Regions from separate parts of the Homo sapiens genome. Here region 1 is linked to region 2. The links are contacts of gene promoters, found by promoter capture Hi-C in human tissues and cell types (Jung and others, 2019). All regions are on one chromosome and are shown on one strand. Each heading gives the region's core, a stretch centred on a gene start or on the middle of the fragment in contact. The rest is flanking DNA. Distances are from core to core; before and after follow the strand shown. Region 1 overlaps CXCL17 (C-X-C motif chemokine ligand 17). Region 2 holds the start of PLAUR (plasminogen activator, urokinase receptor).

Region 1 (6,079 bases), core at 563-3,062, 1.2 Mb after region 2:
ATAATTCATGTTGACAGGAAATATCAGAAACTACCATAAAGGAAGTGTCATCTGAGCCAAGCTCTTACTTGAGAATCTCAAGTCTATAAACCATCATTCTTGATTGTCTTAGGAATTTTTTTTTTTTTTTTGAGACCGTGTCTCGCTCTGTCGCCCAGGATGGAGTACAATGGTACGATCTCAGCTCACTGCAACTTCCGCCTCCTGGGGTCAAGAGATTCTCCTGCCTCAGCCTCCCGAGTAGCTGGGACTACAGGCGCCCGCCACCACGCCCGCCTAATTTTTTGTATTTTTAGTAGAGACGGGGTTTCACCATGTTAGCCAGGATGGTCTTGACCTCCTGACCTCATGATCCGCCTGCCTCAGCCTCCCAAAGTGCTGGGATTCCAGGCATGAGCCACCGTGCCCAGCCTGTCATAGGAATATTTTAAGTATCAAAAAATGGAGATAAGATAGAATCGGAAAATAAAACAGGCTCGGATAAAGGCCAAAAGAAGAATGTATTTGTTCCAGAGGAACAAAGGTAAATACCATCGTTTAATAGTTGAACTGGGACTCTGGATTCAAATACAGCTACTTGGGGTGGGTGTGGTGGCTCATGCCTATAATCACAGCACTTTGGGAGGCCAAGACAGGCGGATCGCTTACGCCCATGAGCTCCAGACCAACCTGGGCAACTTGGCAAAACCCTATCTTTACAAAAAATACAAAAAACTAGCCAGGAGTGGTGGTGCATGCCTGAAGCCTCAGCTACCCAGGAGGCTGAGATGGGAGGACCAACCAAACCCAGGAGGTCAAGGCTGCAGTGAGCCGTGATTGCACCACTACACTCCAGCCTGGATGACAGAGTGAGACTCTGTCTCAAAAAACAAACAAACAAACAAAAAACCCAGCAACTTGGAGGTCAAGGGAAAATCTTGATTTAAGGAATAATCTCCTCCTCGCTCTCACTCTTTTAAGTCATGAGGATTTTAATGTGAGGTATGAGGAGAGGGCAGGAGGTTTCGACAAACCCCTGCCTTTTATCATCTCTTCCATCTAGAAGCCATTCTTTCTCCACCTACCTTCAGCTAAGCTTTTCTCTAGGCCAGATTTTTTTAATCATTAAATTTTTGAATATGCTTATGTATAGGCCAGATTTTAAACCTCAATCCCTTATCGATTAAAATACCCCTCAGCTGGGCACAGTGGCTCACGCCTATAATCCTAGCACTTTGGGAGGCCAAGGCAGGAGGACCACTGGAGCCCAAGAGTTCAAGACCAGCCTAGGCAACACAGCAAGACCCCATCTCAAAAATATAAATAAAAATAAAATATTCATCTCTTGAAGTAACCTAGATTCTTGAAGTAAAAATGGAAAAATGGAACTGTGCTGACCTAGGTAGAACAATGCTGGGAGGATCATTTCTGTGCCCTTTCCAGTGTCTGGATGTGACCTGTTTCCTTCCGACAGGGGTCGCCAGAGGCCACAGGGACCGAGGCCAGGCTTCTAGGAGATGGCTCCAGGAAGGCGGCCAAGAATGTGAGTGCAAAGGTCAGTAATTCAGCAACAACAACAGCGATGGCATCACCATGACCCCAGCTCTCTCCCTTGGGCCCCTCTGAGACCAATGCAGATGTTATCTCAGCTGACCTCACCCATTCCCCTCTCCACAGCCTGCCACATGCAGCACCTGTGCCCACTTTCTTCCTGACTCTCAGGCAAGAACTGGACTTCTCCAAGGTCTAGGGGAAAGCCAGCCAAATGTCAGGCTGCGCCCTGCCCCTTATCCTTTTCCTGAAGAACCCAGAGCTACCGTCCAAAAGCCTTTTTATTTTTTCCTGGCCTTCCAAAAGCTTCCTGAATCCTATTCTCAGCCTTATTTTACTCACAGGCAAGACTGAAAGCAGAGAGGCAAAATGGCTTCCCCAAGGGAAAGTAGCCACTGAAAAGCAGACACCCAAGCCTTACTCCTCATTCTTTGGAGTAATGATATTCTGATGCACCCTCCAAACCTGCCACCAAACCCTTGCCCAAACCCTTGCCCAAACCTTGCCCAAAGTTGTCAGGAAAAACAACTCAGAAATACTGGCATTCAAATAGCTGGATGGACACTGTTCTCTGTTGACCCCTTTTCCCACCCCATTGCAGTGGAAATGCAAGGCACAGAAGATGGCGATTAAAGCTCTGTCCTACTCCCTCCTATCAAATGTATTAACTCTCCCATCTAAGCAGCAATGCTGTTGTTCCAGATTGGTTCCTGAGAGCCCCGAGAAGAAAATTCATGACAGTGTCTGGGCTGCCAAAGAAGCAGTGCCCCTGTGATCATTTCAAGGGCAATGTGAAGAAAACAAGTAAGTTTCCAAAGGATGATTTTCCTTATACCAGAGTCACTCCGTGAAATCACTAGGGAAGAAGCACGTTGAGAATAGAAAAAAGAGGTGAAATTAAGACCAGGATAAGCACACAACTCAGCCCTTTCTACTCAATGTCACCTTGTCGGGAAATAGGAAGAGAGGAAAAGCAGGATACAATTTTCCTGATACTGGAAAGGTTTAACCAAATTCTTAGATTTTAAAACCTCACTGTTTACCAAAGTGGGGGTAGATGGGGCTGTTGGAGATCTGGTCATTAATCTCTGAAGATTACACCAGTGTCAGCATCAAACAGAATTTGACTCCTCCCTAGTCTAGCAGTTTTGTGTTTGTTATTTTGTTCTGTTTTTTGAGTAGGGGGTCTTGCCATGTTGCCCAGGTTGGTCTCAAACTCCTGGGCTCAAGTGATCCTTCCACCACAGCCTCCCAAGGATCTGGGGTTAGAGGTACACACCACCACACCCAGTTTAGTCTACCAGTTTTTAAGTGTCATATAAAAAGTAAATTGGCAGCCGGGCACAGTGGCTCATGCCTGTAATCCCAGTACTTTGGGAGGCCGAGGCAGGCGGATTGCTTGAGGCCAGGAGTTCAAGACCAGCCTGGCCAACATGGTGAAACCCCGTCTCTACTAAAAATACAAAAATTAGCGGGGCATAGTGGTGCATGCCTGTAATCCCAGCTACTCGGGAGGTTGAGGCACGCGAATTGCTTTAATCCGGGAGGTGGAGGTTGCAGAGAGTTGAGATCATGCCACTGCACTCCAGCCTGGGCGACAGAGTGAGACTCTGCCTCAAAAAAAAAAAAAAAAAAAAACTAAATTGGCAAATGTTAAACTGATTGATATTATGATATTATCAAGAATGGGATATATCAGGATCCTTATACACTATTGACGGAAGTAAAATAAATTTGGCTGTATCAAAATTGTAAATGAGTATAATAACTTTAGTAATCTTACTTTAGGAAATCTCAACAATGGAATACTAGCATGGATGCTCAAAATATAGGTACAAGAATATTAATTATAGCAGTATTTGTATTGACAAATAAATGGGGGAAATTTTCTTCAAAGGCAAATTGGGAAAAACTAATTACTGTCAAAAATAATTAAGTAAACCAGGGGCAGTGGCTCAGGCCTATAATCCTAGCTACTCAGGAGGCTGAGGCAGGAGGATCCAGTAAGCCAAGGAGCTCAAGACCAGCCTGGGCAACATAGCAAGATCCTGTCTCTAAAATAAATATAATAATAACAATAATAATAAAAATAATAATAATAATAATGAGATAAATCATTATGTGTTGGCTGGAGAGATATCCACAATATATTAATGAAAAAAAAATGATGTAGAGACCCCCTATTTCACATCCTTCATTAACGTAAGTTTCAGGTGGATTACAGATCTAAATTTGAAAGACAAATTTACAAGGAAATACAGGAGAATATATTCACAACCTTGAGGTATGAAAGCCTTTCTTAAACAAAATACAAAATGCACAAACCATAAAGTAAAAGAGTAAATAAATCTGACTTCACTGAGATTATGAAATTTTGATCATCAAAAGAATAAAATGACAAGCTGCCAAATAGGAGACGATATCTGTAACATACACAACCTTCAAAGGATTAGTATTCAGAATACATATATAAGGAATTGCTACAGACCAGTGAGAGGAGGGCAGGAAATACAACAGACAAACGGGCAAAAATACTTGAATAGCCACTTCACAGATGATGAAACCCAAACAGCTAATAAACAGATGCAATGGCACTCAACCTTATTATTACAAGGAAAATGTGAATTAAAACTAAAGTGAGGCCAGGTGCAGTGGTTCATGCCTGTAATCCCAGCACTTTGGGAGGCCAAGGCAGGGGGATCACCTGAGGTCAGGAGTTCGAGACCAGCCTGGCCAACATGGTGAAACCCCGTCTCTACTTAAAATACAAAAAAATTAGCCGGGCGTGATGGTGCACATCTGTAATCCCAGCTACTTAGGAGGCTGAGACAGGAGAATTATTTGAACCCGGGAGGCAGAGGTTGCAGTGAGCCAAGATCACGCCACTGCACTCCAGCCTGGACAACAGAGTGAGACTCCATCTCAAAAACAAAAACAAAAAAAATGGGGAGAGACATAAACATTCAGACCATAATATATACATAAAGTTTAAAAATGAGAAAAAATAAACTAAATTATTTAGGAATCTATACACATAGGTGGTAAATAATAAAGAAAAGAAAGTAAATAATTACTATAAAAGTCAAGATTATCACTGTGAGGGGGAGAGAAAGCAGTGATCAGAAAAGGAGGGGTGCTGTTGGCAATATTCTATTTCTTTCTTTCTTTCTTTTTTTTTTTTTTTTGAGATGGAGTTCTGCTCTTGTTGCCCAGGCTGGAGTGCAATAGCGCAATCTCGGCTCACTGCAACCTCCGCCTCCCGGGTTGAAGCAATTCTCCTGCCTCAGCCTCCTGAGGAGCTGGGATTACAGGGATGCGCCACCACACCCAGCTAATTTTGTATTTTTAGTAGAGATGGATTTCTCCATGTTGGTCAGGCTGGTCTCGAACCCCTGACCTCAGGTGATCTGCCTGCCTCGGGCTCCCAAAGTGCAGGGATTACAGGCATGAGCCACCGTGCCCGGACACAATATTCTATTTCTAAGCCTAGGTAGTAGTTTCATGAATATCTGCTTTATAACTATTTATTGAATTGCATGTATAGGTTTCTATGAACTTCTATAGATATATAATACTTTGCAATAATAGATTCAGTTGTTTTTTTTGCAGAGGGAGGGGCGCAGTTGAGACAAGGTCTTGCTCTGTCACCCAGGCTGGAGTGCAGTGGCATGATCACGGCTCACCTCCTGGGCTGAAACATTCCTCCTGCCTCAGCCTCCCCAGCAACTGGAACCACAGGTACACGCCACCATGCCTGGCTAATTTTTGTATTTTTGTAGAGATAGGATTTCGCCATGTTGCTCAGGCTGGTCTTTAACTCCTGGGCTCAGGCAATCTGCCCACCTCGGCCTCCCAAAGTGCTGAGATTATAGGCACAAGCCACTATGCCCGGCCAGATTTCTTAAAGGTGCCGACTAAGGCAATACGTATAGTATAATCTCATTTTTGTTTTTAAAATAAACCATTGTATTTATATACCAGAAGGTATGGAAAAATACGTAGCAAACTATTAACAGTGGTTAGCCCTGGAAAATGTGTTGTAGAGGCTGGGGTGGGAGGAGTCCTTTTACTTTTTACTGGATTTTAAAATTTTTTTCCACTGGATGAGTCTTATTTTTATAATTTTTAAAACTCTCATAAAAATTAAATGTTGGCTGGGCACAGTGGCTCACACCTGTAATCCTAGCATTTTGGGAGGCAAAAGCGGGTGGATCACCTGAGGTCAGGAGTTCAAGACCAGCCTGGCCAACATGGTGAAACCCCATCTCTACTAAAATACAAAAATTAGCCAGGCATGATGGTGGGTGCCTGTAATCCCAGCTACTCGAGAGGCTGAGACAGGAGAATCGCTTGAATCTGGGAGACAGTGGTTGCAGTGAGCCAAGATTGCACCACTGCACTCCAGCCTGGGCAACTGAACGAGACTCCATCTCAAAAAAAAATTAAATGTGAAGGCCAGGCATGGTGGCTCATGCCTGTAATCCTAGCACTTTGGGAGGCCGAGGTGGGTGGATCACATGACGTCAGGAGTTCCAGACCAGCCTGGCCA
Region 2 (6,401 bases), core at 3,609-6,108:
CATCTCTACAAAAAACACGAAATATGAGAAAATAGCCAGGCATGGTGGTGCACACCCCTAGGTCCCAACTACTCAGGAGGCTGAAGTGGGAGTTTCGCTTGAGCCCAGGAGTTCAAGGCAGCAGTGAGCTATGATCATGCCTCTGTCTCAAAAAAAAAAAAAAAAAAAAAAAAAGGGAAATTGGGAAATTGTGGCTTAGAGAAGTGAGGTCATCCCACCAGGAAGTGGTAGCAGCACAGCACACAGCTCCGCATGACCCTCAAACCTGAGTTTTCTCTTCACTGAGAGATGCCCCCTACCCACCCCAGACCCATTTCATAGGTGGCAAAGCCGGGGATTGATGGAGTGAAGCCATCTGCCCAGGGTCACCCAGAAGCAAGTGGCTGAGCTGGGTCTCAAGCCTGCTTGGACCAACACCCCAACTGTCTATTTCCCCACCTCATGTACATTCCGATCTAGTTTAGTTTTCACACCAGCCCAAGAGGGATCCCCTTCTCCAGCTGAGAAAACTGAGGCTCAGAAAGAAGAATGTCATTGGCCCAGGGTGACCCAGCCAGGGAAGTGCCCACTTCAGCAGCTGACGCGTGATAACTGTTGACGTCAGACTCAATGACAGGCCTCCATCTCCCTTCCTACTCCAGGAAGAGGTGAATGTCCAGAGTTGCAACAATGATAATACTGGCAGCTATCGCTTTTATTGAGCACATACTATGTACCAGGCACTGTGGCAAGCATCTTAGGAGCATTCTTCTTTTTGTTTGTTTGTTTGTTTGTTTTAGATGGAGTCTAGCTCTGTCGCACAGGCTGGAGTGGAGTGGTGCGATCTCGGCTCACTGCAATCTCTGCCTCCCAGGTTCAAGCAATTCTCGTGCCTCAGCCTCCTGCGTAGCTGGGACTACAGGTGCATGCCACCACACCTAGCTAATTTTTTTGTATTTTTTAGTAGAGACAGGGTTTTGCCATGGTGGCCAGGCTGGTCTTGAACTCCTGACCTCAAGTGATCCACCTGCCTTGGTCTCCCAAAGCACTGGTATTATAGACATGAGCCACCATGCTCAGTCATTTTAGGTGGATTCTTTTACCTCCGCAGTACACCAGCCCTGGGAGGGTGATACTTGCTATCTCTACTTTCCAGATAAGGGGCTTGGGCACAGAGATAGATTAAGTAACCTGCTAGAGGTGACACAGCCAATATGTAGATGCAATTTAGATTTTCACAATCTGAGACCAGCTCCCACACTCTTAACCATTGGGCTATACTACCTCTTAGGAAATTCTCTGGGAGTTCTTTTTTTTTTTTTTTTCAGTCTCACTTTTGTTGCCCAGGCTCGAGTTCAGTAGCTCGATTTTGGCTCACTGCAGCCTCAAACCCCTGGGGCTCAAGTGATCCTCCCACCTCAACCAGAGAGTAGCTGAGACCACAAGTGTGCACCACGACACCTGGCTAATTTTTCTATTTTTCATAGAGACAAGGTCTCGCTATGTTGTCCAGGCTGTAATTTTATTTTTTTATAGATACAAGGTCTTACTATGTTGCCCAGGGTGGTCTCGAACCCCTGAGCTCAAGCAATCCTCCAGCCTTCGCCTCCCAAAGTGCTGAGATTATAGGCATGAACCACTGTGCTCACCATTGGGAGTTTTTTTGTTTTTTGTTTTCTAACCTTATCTTAAAATCATTAGCTTACAGCTTCAATGAGTTAGTAAGAATCACATAGTACAGGCTGGAAGCGGTAGCTCATGTCTGTAATTTCAGCAATTTGGGAGGCCAAGGTGGGTGGATCACCTGTAGTCAGGAGTTAGAGACCAGCCTGGCAGACATGGTGAAACCCCATCTCTACTAACAATACAAAAATTAGGGCCGGGTGCGGTGGCTCACCCCTGTAATCCCAGCACTTTGGGAGGCTGAGGCAGGTTGATCATCTGAAGTCAGGAGTTCGAGACCAGCCTAGCCGACATGGCGAAACCCCATCTCTACTAAGAATACAAAAATTAGGGCTGGGCGCAGTGGTTCAAGCCTGTAATCCCAGCATTTTGGGAGGCTGAGGCGGGTGGATCACCTGAAGTCAGGAGTTCAAGACCAGTCTGGCCAGCATGGTGAAACCCCATCTCTACTAAAAATGCAAAAAATTCGCCAGGCATGGTGGAGAATGCCTGTAATCTCAGCTACTCAGGAGGCTGAGGCAGGAGAACCTCTTGAACCTGGGAGGCAGAAGTTGCAGTGAGCCGAGACCGTGCCATTGCACTCCAGCCTGGGTAACAAGAAAGAAACTCCGACTCAAAAAAAAAAAAAAAATAGCCAGGCATGCATGAGAATCCCTTGAACCTGGGAGGTGGAAGTTGCAGTGAGCCGAGACCACGCCATTGCATCCAGCCTGGGAGACAAAGTGAGACTCTGTCTCAAAAACAACAACAACAACGACAACAAATCACATAGTATAATCATTATTACAGCAGTAGAAGTAGCTACCACTTACTCATCCCCTACGACTCTCTTCCTCTCCTAATCTGTTCCAGCCACACTGACATCTCTTCTGTTCCTAGAATCTCATCAGGCTTCCACCTCAAGGCCTTTGCACTGGTTGTTCCTGCTCCTTGGAAAGGTTCCCTGCCCATCTGCCCTACTTCTTCCCTCACTGCATTCAGCCTCTGCTTGAATGCCACTTGCTCAGGGAACCCCTCCTGGATCACCCACCTAAAACAGCTCACACCTCATTTGCACCCAGATACTTCCTTCAGCCTGCTTTGTTTTCTCCAGTTTGCTTATCCCTCTCAGACAGTGAAAGATTAGATAACACATATCTGCTCCCCACTGTCAACACAACAAAAGGTGGGAACTTTGCTTTGCGTCCTGCTGTGCCCCTAGCTCCTGGACCAGTGCCCAGCACAAAGTAGGTCCTTGGTAGATGTTAAAGGAATGTGTTGAGCCCTCCATTTCGGCCAGCAGCTATTCCAGGCATTGCACCTACATTAAATTGCTCTGTTTAGTTAGATGCATCCTAAGACGGGGAGACAATTTTATCTTTAGTATTTTATTTTACTTAAAAAAAAAAAAAACTTGGCCAGGTGCAGTGGCTCATGCCTGTAATCCCAGCACTTTGGAAGGACAAGGCAGGTGGATCACCTGAGGTCAGGAGTTCGAGACCACCCTGACCAACATGGTGAAACCCCATCTCTACTAAAAATACAAAAATTAGCCGGGTGTGCTGGCGTGCCCCTGTAATCCCAGTTACTCAGGAGGCTGAGGCAGGAGAATTGCATGAACCCAGGAGGCGGAGATTGCAGTGGCCGAGATTGCACCACTGCACTCTAGCCTGGGTGACAGAGTGAGACTTCGTCTCAATAAATAAATAAATAAATAATAAAAAGAAAGAAAAAACTTATTATAAGCCTTTTCAAACCCACAGAAAAGGAGACAGAATGGCATAATATGCCCTTATATACTGATTACCTTTATATAATTGATACAACCATTTGGCTATTTTGCCTTTATTTTCTACTCAAGTATTTATTTATTTATTATTTTTTTGAGACAGGGTCTCGCTCTGTTGCCCAGGTTGGAGTGCAGTGGTGCAATCATAGCTCACTGCAGCTTCCAGTTCCCAGGTTCAAGCGGTCCTCCCACCTTAGCCTCCCAACTACCTAGGACTACAAGTACGGGCCACTGCACCCAGCTAATTTTATTTTATTTTTAATTTCTTTTGGAAAGATGAGGGCTCTTTATGTTTCCCAAGCTGATCTTGAACTCCTGGCCCCAAGTGATCCTCCTGCCTTGGCTTCCCAAAGCATTGGTGTTACAGGCATGAGCCACCTCATCTGACCTCTTCTAAAATATTATAAAATAAATACAGACATCAAAATGAAAACAAAAGAAAAAGAAAAAACAAAACAAAAATCCCCAAAACAACAACAACAAAAAATGCAGACATCAATAACATTCACCACTAAATACTCTAGTAAGCATCTGCAAAAACAAACAAACAAACAAAAACCAGAATCCCACCTAAGCATACAGCCATTGTCGTAACAGTGATATCTACTTTTTTGGCTGAAGTGTCTTTTTTTTTTTTTTTTTTTTTTTCTGTGAGAAGGAGTCTTGTTCTGTTGCCAGGCTGGAGTGCAGTGGCACGATCTCGGCTCACTGCAACCCAACCTCCGCCTCCCGGGTTCAAGCGATTCTCCTGCCTCAGCCTCCTAAGTAACACACACACGCCACTACGCCCGGCTAATTTTTGTATTTTTAGTAGAGACGGGGTTTCACCATTAAGTGTTTTAATGTAGGTGCAATGCCTGGAATAGCTGCTGGCCAAAATGGAGGGCTCAACACATTCCTTTAACATTTACCAAGGACCTACTTCGTGCTGGGCACTGGTCCAGGAGCTGGGGGCACAGCGGGAAGCAAAGCAAGGGTTAAGTGTTTTAAGTGTTTAAGAGATGCATATTTCAGGATGCATCTCTAGATAAGGACATTTTCCAAAATACCAGTATCCCTCCTGACAAAACTAACAAAAATCCTGTTAGCCAAATAATCAGCCACATTCATATTTACCGTCAAAGTTTTTATCCTCATTTTACAGCAGTGGAGAGCGATTGCCCCGGGTCCCACGTTAGGAAGAGAGAGAACTGGGATTTGCACCCAGGCAATCTGGGGACAGAGCTGTGATCACAACTCCATGAGTCAGGGCCGAGCCAGCCCCTTCACCACCAGCCGGCCGCGCCCCGGGAAGGGAAGTTTGTGGCGGAGGAGGTTCGTACGGGAGGAGGGGGAGGCGCCCACGCATCTGGGGCTGACTCGCTCTTTCGCAAAACGTCTGGGAGGAGTCCCTGGGGCCACAAAACTGCCTCCTTCCTGAGGCCAGAAGGAGAGAAGACGTGCAGGGACCCCGCGCACAGGAGCTGCCCTCGCGACATGGGTCACCCGCCGCTGCTGCCGCTGCTGCTGCTGCTCCACACCTGCGTCCCAGGTAGGGGCTGGGTCCCGAACGCCTGCGCCTGGAACAGGGTCTAATTGAGGGGGTTGGGGGTTGTCAGAGGATGAGTTGGAGGAATGCGGTTCAGTCCTCAGCATCCTCCCTAATCAAATAATAGTAATTCTCGTGCTTTGTGCAACGCCACGCGGCGCAGTACCTGGCACTCAGTAGCTAAGGAAATATTAGTGGAGCAAAGGCATTTAGCTTTACATAATTTAGTGAGTGCTTTTTTTTTTTTTTTTTTTTTTTTGACAGAGTCTCACTCTGTCGCCCAGGCTGGAGTGCAGTGGCGCGATCTCGGCTCACTGCAACCTCTGCCGCCCGGGTTCAAGCGATTCTCCTGCCTCAGCCTCCTGGGTAGCTGGGATTACAGGCGCCTGCCATCGCGCCCGGCTAATTTCTGTATTTTTAGTGGAGACCGGGTTTCACTCTGTTAGCCAGGATGGTCTCAATCTCCTGACCTCAGATGATCCACCTGCCTCGGCCTCCCAAACTGCTGGGATTACAGGCGTGAGCCACCGCGCCCGGCCCAAGTGTTCTTTTTTTAAATGGAGTTCTTCGAAGCCTCTTCCTTGCAATTTCAAACTAGGCGATGGGACTTTATTAATTTCGTTTCGCAGAGGAAACTAGGGCACAGAGAGGTTAGATAACTGGCCTAAAATCACACAGCCAGTGCTTGAATACGCAGGATCTGACCCTGCAGCGCCCCCCAGCGCTCTCCACGCTGCTGGGTCTCCCCCTCTGAGAAACGGGGGGACAGGACCCCCTTTTACAAAAGGCCCAAAGGGAGGCTGACTGAGCGGCGCAGAGCCAGTGCTGGAGACCCGGGACTGTCCCTCAGGACCTTTCCCTCTCACTGAGGCGACTCTCACTTACTTCCCCGGAAAATGTGGGGGGCTCTGGGTCGAGGAATTCGAGAAGGAACTGAGTCAGGGCGGGTGGCCACAGGGTGTTGGGGCCGCGATGAATAACCCGGAAAGCGCTCGAGACCGCGGGAGGCCGGGAATGAGTAACAGCTCCGGGATACTCCGAACGCGCAGCTGGAAAGGGATGTCCGGGAAGGCCCGGAGGTCGGGGACCGGGCCTAGGGACTGGGCTGCAATCTCGGGGCGGAGCCTGGGGCGGGGAGAGAGTGTCGGGGAGGAGCCAGAGGGCGGGGCTGGAACCTCAAGGAAGAGCTACGGGAGAGGTTACAGACCGAGGAAGAGCTAGGAGCGGGGCTAGAACCTCGAGGCGGAGCCAGAGGGCGGGGTTATAACCTCGAGGCGTAACCAGAGGGCGGAGTTATAACCTCGGGAGGAGCTAGAAGGTGGGACTAGACTCTTGAGGGGCAGGATTATAACCTCGGGGAGGAGCTAGAGGGCGGGGCTGGAACCTCAAGGAGGGGCTAGGGGCGGGGTTATAAGCTTGGGGAGGAGCTACGGGGCTGGGCTA

The links. The method cuts DNA at HindIII sites, captures the fragments that hold promoters and counts their contacts. A contact is called where the count stands out against the background at its distance.
Region 1: a contact is called between a fragment that was not itself captured here and the fragment with the promoter of PLAUR in region 2, in 2 of the 25 tissues and cell types used here (dorsolateral prefrontal cortex and hippocampus).

What each region holds. Positions count from the first base shown.
Region 1 is chr19:42,429,231-42,435,309 of GRCh38, reverse strand. It overlaps CXCL17 (C-X-C motif chemokine ligand 17), which reads left to right. Exons shown (of 4, transcript NM_198477.3): 2 at 1,454-1,534; 3 at 2,233-2,334. All of the region lies in intron 1 of LIPE-AS1 (LIPE antisense RNA 1), which reads right to left. Among named protein-coding and RNA genes, the nearest start is that of LIPE, 4.9 kb to the right of the region's middle. The HindIII fragment of the contact is 4,621 bases long and covers 1-4,122 here.
Region 2 is chr19:43,668,626-43,675,026 of GRCh38, reverse strand. PLAUR (plasminogen activator, urokinase receptor) reads left to right here and starts at 4,858. Exons shown (of 7, transcript NM_002659.4): 1 at 4,858-4,961. The coding sequence starts at 4,907. LOC124904724 (a long non-coding RNA gene) reads right to left here and starts at 6,263. Exons shown (of 3, transcript XR_007067264.1): 1 at 5,844-6,263; 2 at 4,547-5,001. RefSeq lists an enhancer at 4,790-5,089 and silencers at 6,010-6,089, 6,130-6,359. The HindIII fragment of the contact is 20,050 bases long and covers 1-6,401 here.